2 separate regions of the Homo sapiens genome follow, and region 2 is linked to region 1. The links are contacts of gene promoters, found by promoter capture Hi-C in blood cells and fetal thymus (Javierre and others, 2016). All regions are on one chromosome and are shown on one strand. The core of a region is centred on a gene start or on the middle of the fragment in contact, and the rest is flanking DNA. Distances in the headings are between cores, read along the strand shown.

Region 1 (5,128 bases), core at 870-3,369:
TACATTTGCCATCATCCCTAGAAAGAGAAAAGCCATGGTCCAGGTAACTAGTCTTGGTGCTATGAGAACAAACCTTCCGTAAATAAGTATATGGGAAATGACCACATGCTAAACCACCCTCTTGGCCATTCACAATCAAGTAGCATATTAAAAGTTCTGGAAATTCTTCAGTAACCACTCTGTTGAGTGGTTTAAAAAGAGTTGTTTGTAAAAGGAAAGACTTTAATTCTTTGTACACATTTATTAAAATCTCCCTGAACAGTTAGTTAAATGCCACCATATACTAATCTCTCAAAGACAGTACAGCATTTGGGTAGGAATTTGGCCACACACTATGCCACCCAATTGGGCAGCTGGGGTGGGGTCAGGTTTGGACTTTGTCCAGGAACCAAGAGATGCCTGTCTTGGTGGCTTTGGTGAGAGGGACTCAGCAAGCAAGGCCTGGCAAGAACGTCAAGAGGCTCTGGGGGACGGTTGCAATTTTACTCTAGCCTGGCTGAGAGGTGATGTCAGACCTAGCAGACACACTGCATCAATCAGGCCCAGGCCTCCAACACAGAACAGTGCAGATCTAGAATCCCTAGAGAAGGAGCCCCTCAGGGTGGAAGACGGTAGACCACATCCCCCTGTTGACCCACTTCTGGCTAATTGGTGAGGTCATGGCTAACTTCCAAAGCTCAGTGCAGATATTGCCTCTGAAAACTTCCGAAGCCCTCAAGCTTTTACAGCCAGGTCAGAATAAACCACTCCTGTGTGTTCTCCTAGCACCTTTGCTGCATCTCTTAGTGCAGTCAGTGAATCTAGTTTGTCTTCCAGTTCATACTAACCTACCTTGTGAAAAGGAAGGGTCACATAATGAATTGTGTACTTTACAGTCTTCTCTAACAAAAGTGGGAGCTCTTCCATAGTGGGATACTGTTCAGGCTCTCATTCAATCATTACTGAGCACCTACCACGTGTCAGGCATTAGCTGAACTGCTGGGAATTCAGGGGTGAGGCAGACCCAATCCCTGCCCTCACTCTTACATCTCCTGTAGCCTAGCCCAATGTCTAGCCCAGGGCCTGGCACAGTAGGGCTTACGGATGGCAATCTCATTGGAAAGTTTGTCTTGAAACTGCCTTTGCAAAACAAACACTGCTTTAACTTACCTTCTATGCTAAATATATTAATAAACATTTTCTCAAGATGCATTGTCCACTAATAGCTTAGTGTTGAAGAACAGGCCTTGGGTCAGATGGACCTGGATTAAAATCCCTGTTCCCTCCTCTTACTGCTTGAGGGACTTTGGACATGTTACCTGACTTCTCTGAACTTGAGCTTCCTGATCTGTAAAATGGAGACAGTAATACCTCACAGGGTTGTTGTGAGGTGAGGAGCCTGCCCTATAGCAAGTGTCCTGCCATATAGCAAGTGCGCAGTAAACACTGGCCATTCTTCTTCTTGGTGTGATTACTGGGAATTAGTTGCCATTGTGCTGTTGGGACTGGTGACAGAACTCTTGGATTGAGAATGCCGAGATGGTGCACGGAAGATTCTGTGTGCTCTTTCAGACCAGGAGGAGGATGAGGAGGAGGAAAGTTTATATGACGTAAATTCATTTGACCGTAAGATATGTATTTAAACATCGTGGAGGATCTTGGGGGTCTGATGGGGAGTGGGGTTGCTGAAGCTCCAGCCACCCCTAGGCCCTCCACCTGGCAGGACCAAAGTTGGGGCAGTAGCCGAAGCACCGCCCCCCGGGCCCCGCAGGAGTGTGCAGTCACCCAGTTAGGCCTATCTTGGCCTGCCCATCACTCCTGGCCTGCGGTCTCCTAACCCTGTGGCAGCAGCAGCATTCCCTGAATGGATCGAAGGCTGCCATGGTGTCGTCCGCTGAATTGCTATAGGAGTCAGCCCAGGGCTGCTCATGTGCACCTCAGGTTGCTGATGGCAGCTCTAGTTATTTGGGGATGGAAGTTTGGGGAGAGTGGGCCTTGGTCCACCCTGTGCGAAAGGGAATTCCACAGCCCCCCGGGCGCCCGCCCCCGCCCCCGCCCCGCCCCCTCCCCGCCCCTTCCCCGCCGGGCCCCGGGCCCCGCCCCCGCTCTCCATAGTTACCGCGCTGTGGAGGCGGCGGCCATCTTGGCGGCGGAGCGATGAGCGGGTCTAACCCGAAGGCTGCGGCCGCGGCGTCGGCGGCTGGGCCCGGGGGGCTGGTGGCTGGCAAGGAGGAGAAGAAGAAGGCGGGCGGCGGCGTCCTGAACCGCCTGAAGGCGCGGCGGCAGGCGCCCCACCACGCGGCCGACGACGGCGTCGGGGCAGCGGTCACGGAGCAGGAGCTGCTGGCGCTGGACACCATCCGGCCCGAGCACGTCCTGCGCCTCAGCCGGGTCACCGAGAGTGAGTGCCGCGCGGGCCGCGCCCTCCCCTCGCGCCGTGCCCCGGCTCCCGGAGCCTTCAGCGGACCCGGCCACTTGACCAGCGCGGGGGTCCCCGCCAGACCCCCTCGGCCGGCCGGGCCGCGCTTCCCGCTGCCCCGCCGGCCGGGCTTTGCTCCCGCCACGCTCACGTAGCTCTGGTGGGGAAGGACTCTCCTGGGCTGGACCGCATTCCTGTGAGTCCGGCCACGCTAGGATGCCCTTCGGCCGGTCGGCTCCCCAGCTCTGCCGGACCTGTTTGGGTAGAGGGCCCCGTTCAGCTGAACTGGATCCTCCTGAGCCGGCCGGGGGCCGAGGTCCCCTAATAAATGGGCCCCTGGGCCCTCAGCCTGGAACCCCCGGCCATCAGTGAAGTTCCCGCTCAGCCAGGCTCCCCCAGCCCTCTGGCAGGCCAGAAGCCTTACCTGCTTCCTCCGCCCTGGCCCCATGGCAGCCCTCCCCCATTGCAGCCTGCCCGGCCTCCCTCCCTCTTTGGGTCGGGAGCGTTGCCCCTTAGTGTGCAGATGGGTTCTTCCTCAAAACACATAGCCGTGGCATTTCCTGCTCATTTAAAACTGTGCCACATTAAAACAAAAATAAAGTTTCAGTTTGTGTACAGACTCCGACATGTGAATCCTGCTTTTGACATTCTCGTGAATTAAGAATGATTTCAGAGTTTCAGAAATGCGTTTCCTGCACAAAAGGCAACCATCCTAAGCTTTTTCGTTGATAGGAGGATGGGTGGGAAGAAAAATGTTGCCCAGTCCCTGCCCTGGGTGATCTCCCTTTTTCTGTTCTCTGCCAAGCCAGTCCCTGACTTGACGTCTTTTCTCTTGCTGCTGTTTTCCCTGCAGGAGTGTGCACTCACCTAGTTAGGCCTATCTTGGCCTGCCCATCACTCCTGGCGTGCAGTCTCCTAACCCTGTGGCAGCAGCAACATTCCCTGGATGGATCGAAGGCTGCCATGGTGTCTGCTGAGCTGCTATAGCAGGCAGCCCAGGGCTGTTCAGGTGCACCTCAGGTTGCCGATTGCAGCTCTAGTAATTTGGGGATGGAAATTTGGGGGGAGTAGGCCTTGGTCCACCCTGTGCGAAAGGGAATTCCCATTTCCTAAAAGAGTTTTAATTTGATTCTAGATATTTGGATGCCCCCGTTTCCCAATACTGTTTGGGTTGAGACTGTCCTTACCAGACCTGAACGTATCTTTAGACATTCTTGTTAGTTTTATTGAAACAGTGTGAAAAAGCTTCTTTTCTTCTGAACCAGTTTTCATTTGGGGCTCTGAAAGTACAGATGCTCAGCACCTGGTCTTGGTAACCTCATGCCCTCTCCTGCCATCCAAGTGAGTTAGGGTATTCTGTGCCTGGCCCTAAGCAGGATTCTCAGTGGGCACTCAGATCCTATCTGGGGGCTTGGGATTGTTGCTCATTGTCCAAACCCACCTCTGCAGCTTCTTAGAGTCTGGCAACCTCTTTGTTACTCTTCTTAACGTCTCGTTCATTCTATCCAGCAGATTATTTGAGTACCCTCTAAGAGTCCAAAGCCAATGTTAGCCTTTTTAGCAGTTACAGAATAATCAGTAGTTGTCAAGTTTGTCGTCTTAATAAAGAGACAACTTGTAAAACACGAAAACAACTAACTCAGGCAATAAAAGATCAAGTATCAAAATGAGCTGTGGAGAAGATGCTATCCGGAATCATCCTAGAAAGAAATCAGTGAAATTTGCTGTGATTAGAATTATTTCAATTTGCGGCTCATGTTCTAGTCACTTGGGCCTAATGTCTTCACCGGCAGATTTATCCTCTTGCCTGGATATGTATGATATGTATTGTCTACTGTATGATTTTGTGTAGCCCACAAACTAAGATTAGGTTTGTACATTTTTAAATGGTTGAAAAAAACTTTAAAATCTTGAGACACGTGGTTATGTAAAATTCATATTTCAGTGTCCATAAATACAGTTTTACTGGAATATAGCCACATTCATTCATTTGCGTATTGTCTGTGGATGCTTTTGTGGCTACAATGATAGAGTTGAGTAGTTGTGACAGAGACCATGTGGCGGCAAAGCCTAAATTATTTAGAATCTGGCTCTACAGAAAAGTTTGCTGATCTCGGCTTTCTTACACTGACAGTTGGCAAACTAACGTTGGCAAACTAGCACTGTATTATCTGCTAAGTCAGTTTAAATGTCTTAGATTGGAATTCTATAAAAAGTTCGCCCTGTTCTGACATCCAACTTGATAGATGATGAAAGATTTTTATGTGTTTCCAAAGAAATCCACCTTTTCTATCCTAGTTTCTAAAAGTTTTGCAATTTTTCATCCAAAGCAAGTCCTTGTTATTTTTTTTCTTTGTTGGATCCCCTAATTCTGTCCATACAACTTCTGCTGGTGATAACACATGAGAAAGTTTTTGGGAGTATTTTAAGTGTGTTGTGTAAGAAAAAATCTGAGTTTGCTTCAAAACTTGAGAATTAAATAAATGGTAGTTTTGGAGGATTATTTAACAGTGTTGGTTTCTCTCTCTTGTTTTCAGATTATTTATGTAAACCCGAAGACAACATCTACAGTATTGATTTCACCCGCTTCAAAATTCGAGATTTGGAGACAGGGACAGTACTTTTTGAGATTGCCAAACCTTGCGTTTCAGGTAGGCCTCTACGTTGTGGTGACCACTAGACAGTTTTGAGCCAAAGGTCTTTGAAACTCAAATCTTTGTGTGCCACTGC
Region 2 (5,128 bases), core at 2,629-5,128, 140 kb before region 1:
AGTGTATTACCTAGGGAGTATTGGGGAAAAGTTTGCATCCTTGTGCTGGATCTTGTTGATGTGTCTTGGATTCTAATTGGATACTCCCAGGTCATAGTGTCTACTATCGGGAATGTAAAAGCTGAGCTGATTAAATTTTATCTTTTTCTTGGAGCTATTTCATCCTTGTAAAACCAGTCCCTGACAGTACCTATCCTTGAGAGCCAGCCTTTGTGGAAAGTATAGCATTTCAAAAGCAAAGACTTTTCTTACAGTTGGAGTAGATTCTACCATGACTTCTAGAGTTACTGTAACGATGAAGCTCTTCCCTCTTCCTGTACCGGTCGCTGATTTCACTGGTGATATTGTTGGCTTTTTAAGAACATGGAAGAGTTGAAAGTTGGATCAATGTTTGCTTTTTTTTTTTTGAGGGGATGATTTGTAATTTTCCAGACCTGACTCAGGGCTCACTCATCTCTCTTGTTAAGGACACCCCTTGGAACGTGACGAATATAATCAGGTCTCTGGTTCCCTTTCAGACTTTCTGCTGACCCCTCTGTCACCCACTGCCAGTCAGGGCAGTCCCTCATTCTGCGTTGGGAGTCTGGAAGAAGACTCTCCCTTCCCTTCCTTTGCCCAGGTAAATCCTTTGCTTGTGAAGCAGCCCAGGGGTATTTAACATGAACTCTGCTGCTCATTATTATGGGAACCTCCTCCAGGGATTGTTACCTCTCATTCTAATACGGCTGGACAAATTGAGTCATCTGATGGGTAGGAGGGAAGTTAACTGCCTGTCGGAGCTTTATGCAGCATGGAGTTGGTTGAGGGCAGATTATGTCATGGACGTCCGCTCTGTTGGAAAAGGAGAGACTTAACAGGCTAATGTTGCACTGACTCTAATAATCATGGGAGGCATTCTTAAGAGGAAAGCTCATGGATTTAGTCCTCAGATGTTACTGTAGACGTACCCAGGAAAGAGGCCAAGAATAGCTGAGGCAGAATCAGAGTTTAGAATATTTTAAAAATCATTTGATAACTTGTGTACTGGATACTATTGTAGGGGCTGGGGATACAGCATCAGTTTTAACTGGTCTCTGGTTCTAGGACCTCTGATTCAGGTGGTATTTATCTGTTACATAAAATGAGCCATTTCTCTTCACTTTGAGAGGGGAAGATTGTCTTGGTTATACTGCACCTAGCCAAAGCAGCTTCCTTGGAGCTGGGTGGGGGAACGATAGGCTAGTGAGGCTTGCTGTGAAACCACTTTGTTAATCTCTAAGATAACAAGCTAATACTCAGCATTCCTGCATTCAGATAAGTGAGGAAGATGGATGGACAGCTTGACATGTGCCCTTGTAAGAAGTCCGTATAAACTTCTTTGAGGCTAGTGCAGAATCATTATCTTGACAGTTTTTTTTTTTTTTTCCTCTTCTCCAAGACGGAGTCTCCCTGTCCCCCAGGCTGGAGTTCCGTGGCGCGATCTTGGCTTGCTGTAAGCTCCGCCTCCCGGGTTCACGCCATTCTCCTGCCTCAGCCTCCCGAGTAGCTGGGACTATAGGCGCCTGCCACCACGCCCGGCTAATTTTTTGTATTTTTAGTAGAGACAGGGTTTCACCGTATTAGCCAGTAGGGTCTCAATCTCCTGACCTCGTGATCCGCCTGCCTCAGCCTCCCAAAGAGCTGGGATTACAGGCATGAGCCACCATGCCCGGCCATTGACAGTTCTTTAGAGCAGTTGATACGGATCTTTCTTATGTAATTACAGCAGTTTGTACTGAGAAATAAGCAAGAATTGAGCTTTGGTAAGGAGGGTTCCGAAGTCAAGGAACATGAAATAATTGTGGAGGTGAGGTGAGAAGAGAGGGGGATCCTGAAAATTAACTGCTGGACTTAGAGATGATTAACAAGTGGCTCCCAGGAGTTATGCCAAATACTTGTTTTGTTTTGTTTTGTTTTGTTTTGAGTTGAAGTCTTGCTCCTGTCCCCAAGGCTGGAGTGCAATGGCGTGATCTCGGCTCACTGCAACCACCGCCTCCCGGGTTCAAGCAATTCTCCTGCCTCAGCCTCCCGGGTAGCTGGGGTTGGGTTACAGGCGCCTACCACCATGCCCGGCTAATTTTTGTATTTTTAGTAGAGACAGGGTTTTACCATGTTGGCCAGGCTGGTCTAGAACTCTTGACCTCAGGCGATCCACCTGCCTCAGCCTCCCAAAGTGCTGGGATTACAGACATGAACCACTGCGCCTGGCCTTTTTTTTTTTTTTTTTTTTTAAACTAGGCTTTATTGCTATTGCTTTTTTCCTTTGAACTTTATTTTGAAATACAGAGTTGAAAGAATAGTATTATGAACACTTAAACTTTTGACCTAGATTCACTAATTGTTACTATTTTGCTGTTATATATTTGCTTTCTCTTTTTTCTGTGTTGAAAAGAAGTTGCAGATATCCTGAATGATACTTTACCGCTAAGTACTTAGGAGATACATGCCAAAGAAAGTGGGATATTCGCCTATAGAACCACAGTGATCACATTAGAGAAATTCCACTGCCACAGTAATATCTAATATGGTGCATATTTATATCTCCACATTTGTCTCAGCGTCCTTCATTTTCAACTCAGGGCAGAATCCTGTTACTCCCTGCATTTAGTTGTCAAGTCTCTTTAGTCTCCTTTGATCTATAACCGTTCCTTTGCCCATATCCCCTTTTTTTTCCCTTCCATGGCCAGTTGTTTTATAGAATATCCTACAGTTTGGACTTGTTTGATTTCTCATGAATGGATTCAGGTTACATTTAAACATTTTGGTAAGAATAAGACATAGGTGACATTTTGATTACCTTTTAAGAGTAAAACAATTCACATGTCAAACTATTTGGATACTGTCTCAGTCCATTTGTGTGGGTATAAAAGATTACCCGACGCCGAGTCATTTATCAAAAAAAAAAAAAAAGTTTATTTGGCTCATGACTCTGCTGGCTGGAGGACTGGGCATCTGGTGAGTGCCTCAGGCTGCTTCCACTCATGGTACACGAAGTGAAGGGGTCCCTGCTTGTGAAGAGATCACATGGCTAAAGAGGAAGCAAGGAGGGGAGGAGGTGCCAGGCCGTTTTAAACAACCGTGTTCCTGTGCCCAGTTTCAAAATAGCCTTCAGCCAAGCTATTGAAGCAGCCTTTGTGAAACTGGACACACCAGCTACTTCAGATCCCTTCTGTGGTAAGGGCAGAGGCTGGAGTGCCCAGGGTTGTCAAACACACATGTACTGCCATTCCCACTGGGATCCAGTGGCAGACATCACTCATCAGCTCTTTCAGGAATGAATGCGAGAATAGGTCTCCCATCCCCCAGGGAGGGCATTAATCTGTTCATGAGGGGTCCACCCCCATGACCCATACATCTCCCATTAGGTCCCCACTTCCAGCATTGGGGATCAGATTTTAACATGAGGCTTGGGAGGGTCAAATGTCTAAACCGTAGGAGACCCAAACTCCTAGAGACAAAGGGAGAAGTTCACCAAAGTGGAACATAATGAAGAAAGGTTATTTAATGAAATCGGCATCTGCCAACACAAACTCATCTTGAGTAATAGGCATTCCTCACTTTGGAATATATGATTTAAGGACAAGGCATCCCTGCTTGAACCCCATGGGGTTTGTCTCTTGATATTTTTCCAGGAATAAAATGTTCTCTGCCTTTTAAGTGGCATATTTGCAGTTGGGGCTCATAGTGGCCTTCAGCAGTTACAAAGCTGGCCTTGGCCAAGTGGAATGAAAATTCCTCAGGGGCATGAGGATTGTTCTGATTTTATTGTCCTTGCAGGAATTTTACTGGCCTGTGGTTGGATCTGAAAGTTAATGATGAAGGAGCTATTGGAAAAGCAGACTAAAAGGTAGTGAGGGGCTGTTGAAGCGGTGTCAGGAGAGAGTTTAGTTAGTTTTCATGGCTTTAGGTAACTGAAGTTTAGTAGCCATGTGGTTTAAAACTGGAGGGTACTTGGCTGGGCACGGTGTCTCATGCCTGTAATCCCAGCACTTTGGGAGGCCAAGGCGGGCAGATCACCTGAGGTCAGGAGTTCGAGACCAGCCTGACCAACATGGAGAAACCCCGTCTTTACTAAAAATACAAAAATTAGCCGGGCGTGGTGGTGCATGCCTATAATCCCAGCTACTCAGGAGGATGAGGCAGGAGAATCACTTGAAGCTGGGAGGCAGAGGTTGCGGTAAGCCAAGATTTGCGCCATTGCACTCCAGCCTGGGCAACAAGAGCGAAACTCCATCTCGAACAAAACAAAAAAAACTGGAGGGTACTAGGCCGGGCACAGTGGCTCACGCCTATAATCCCAGCACTTTGGGAGGCCAAGGTGAGGGATTAACTGAGGTCAAGAGTTCAGGACCAGCCTGGCCAACATGGTGAAACCCCGTCTCTACTAAAAAAAAAAAAATCCAAAAATTAGCCAGGCGGGTGCCTGTAATCCCAGCTACTTGGGAGGCTGAGACAGAATTGCTTGAACCTGGGAGGCACAGGTCACAGTGAGCCAATATTGTGCCATTGCACGCCAGCCTGGGCAACAAGAGCTAAACTGTCTAAAAAACAAAAACTGGAGGGTACTACTCACTGCTTCCTCCGACAGCTCGATGTTTTTAGGGGTCCCAGGAAGGGCAGAAAAACTTAACCAGAAAGTCGGAATTCCCAATTTGAGGGTCTCAGTAAGAATCTCTTGTGCCTTCTGTGCAGTGTTCTTTACCCATTTCCTAAGGAACAAACAGCTTATGGTTTACTACCTTGTGGGTTTCATTGCCATTTCCATTAGCCAGGATATAGAGGACATGACTAGAACAGTGTGTTAAGGAGAGAAGTACCTGGAAAATCTTTTCAAAGGTGATAGTTGGTTCTGTGCCTCTCCAGTTAGTCAAGGTAGGTCTGAAAAAGAAGTTGGACCAGCTACTTAAATTCTCTCCCCCACTTCTTTCCCACTTTGGCAGATGCTGAGGGTTGGAAAAGCAAAAGCAGATGTGTGGCCCAAAACTGCTCCAAAGAAAGGTGAGGATGGTCCACTGGTGAAGGGGGAGTTTGGCTTCTTTCCATAAAAGGCTGTTTCTAGAAAAAGAGTTGTTTCTATAGTTTTAACACTGGTATTTTTTAGATGAGAACA

The links. Contacts are between HindIII fragments. The CHiCAGO score rates a contact against its expected background, and 5 or more counts as called.
Region 2: a fragment that was not itself captured here is called in contact with the fragment with the promoter of UNC119B in region 1 in 7 of 17 cell types (M1 macrophages, naive CD8 T cells, M2 macrophages and 4 more); the score reaches 8.5 in M1 macrophages.

Annotation. Positions count from the first base shown.
Region 1 is chr12:120,708,339-120,713,466 of GRCh38, forward strand. It overlaps UNC119B (unc-119 lipid binding chaperone B), which reads left to right and starts at 2,120. Exons shown (of 5, transcript NM_001080533.3): 1 at 2,120-2,380; 2 at 4,936-5,049. The coding sequence starts at 2,137. It overlaps LOC124903036 (a long non-coding RNA gene), which reads right to left and starts at 2,168. Exons shown (of 2, transcript XR_007063491.1): 1 at 2,099-2,168; 2 at 1,595-1,936. RefSeq lists silencers at 2,010-2,069, 2,160-2,429 and an enhancer at 2,037-2,879. The HindIII fragment of the contact is 2,396 bases long and covers 718-3,113 here.
Region 2 is chr12:120,570,673-120,575,800 of GRCh38, forward strand. RNF10 (ring finger protein 10) reads left to right here. Exons shown (of 17, transcript NM_014868.5): 14 at 519-619; 15 at 4,959-5,016; 16 at 5,120-5,128. Among named protein-coding and RNA genes, the nearest start is that of POP5, 8.2 kb to the right of the region's middle. The HindIII fragment of the contact is 8,105 bases long and covers 1-5,128 here.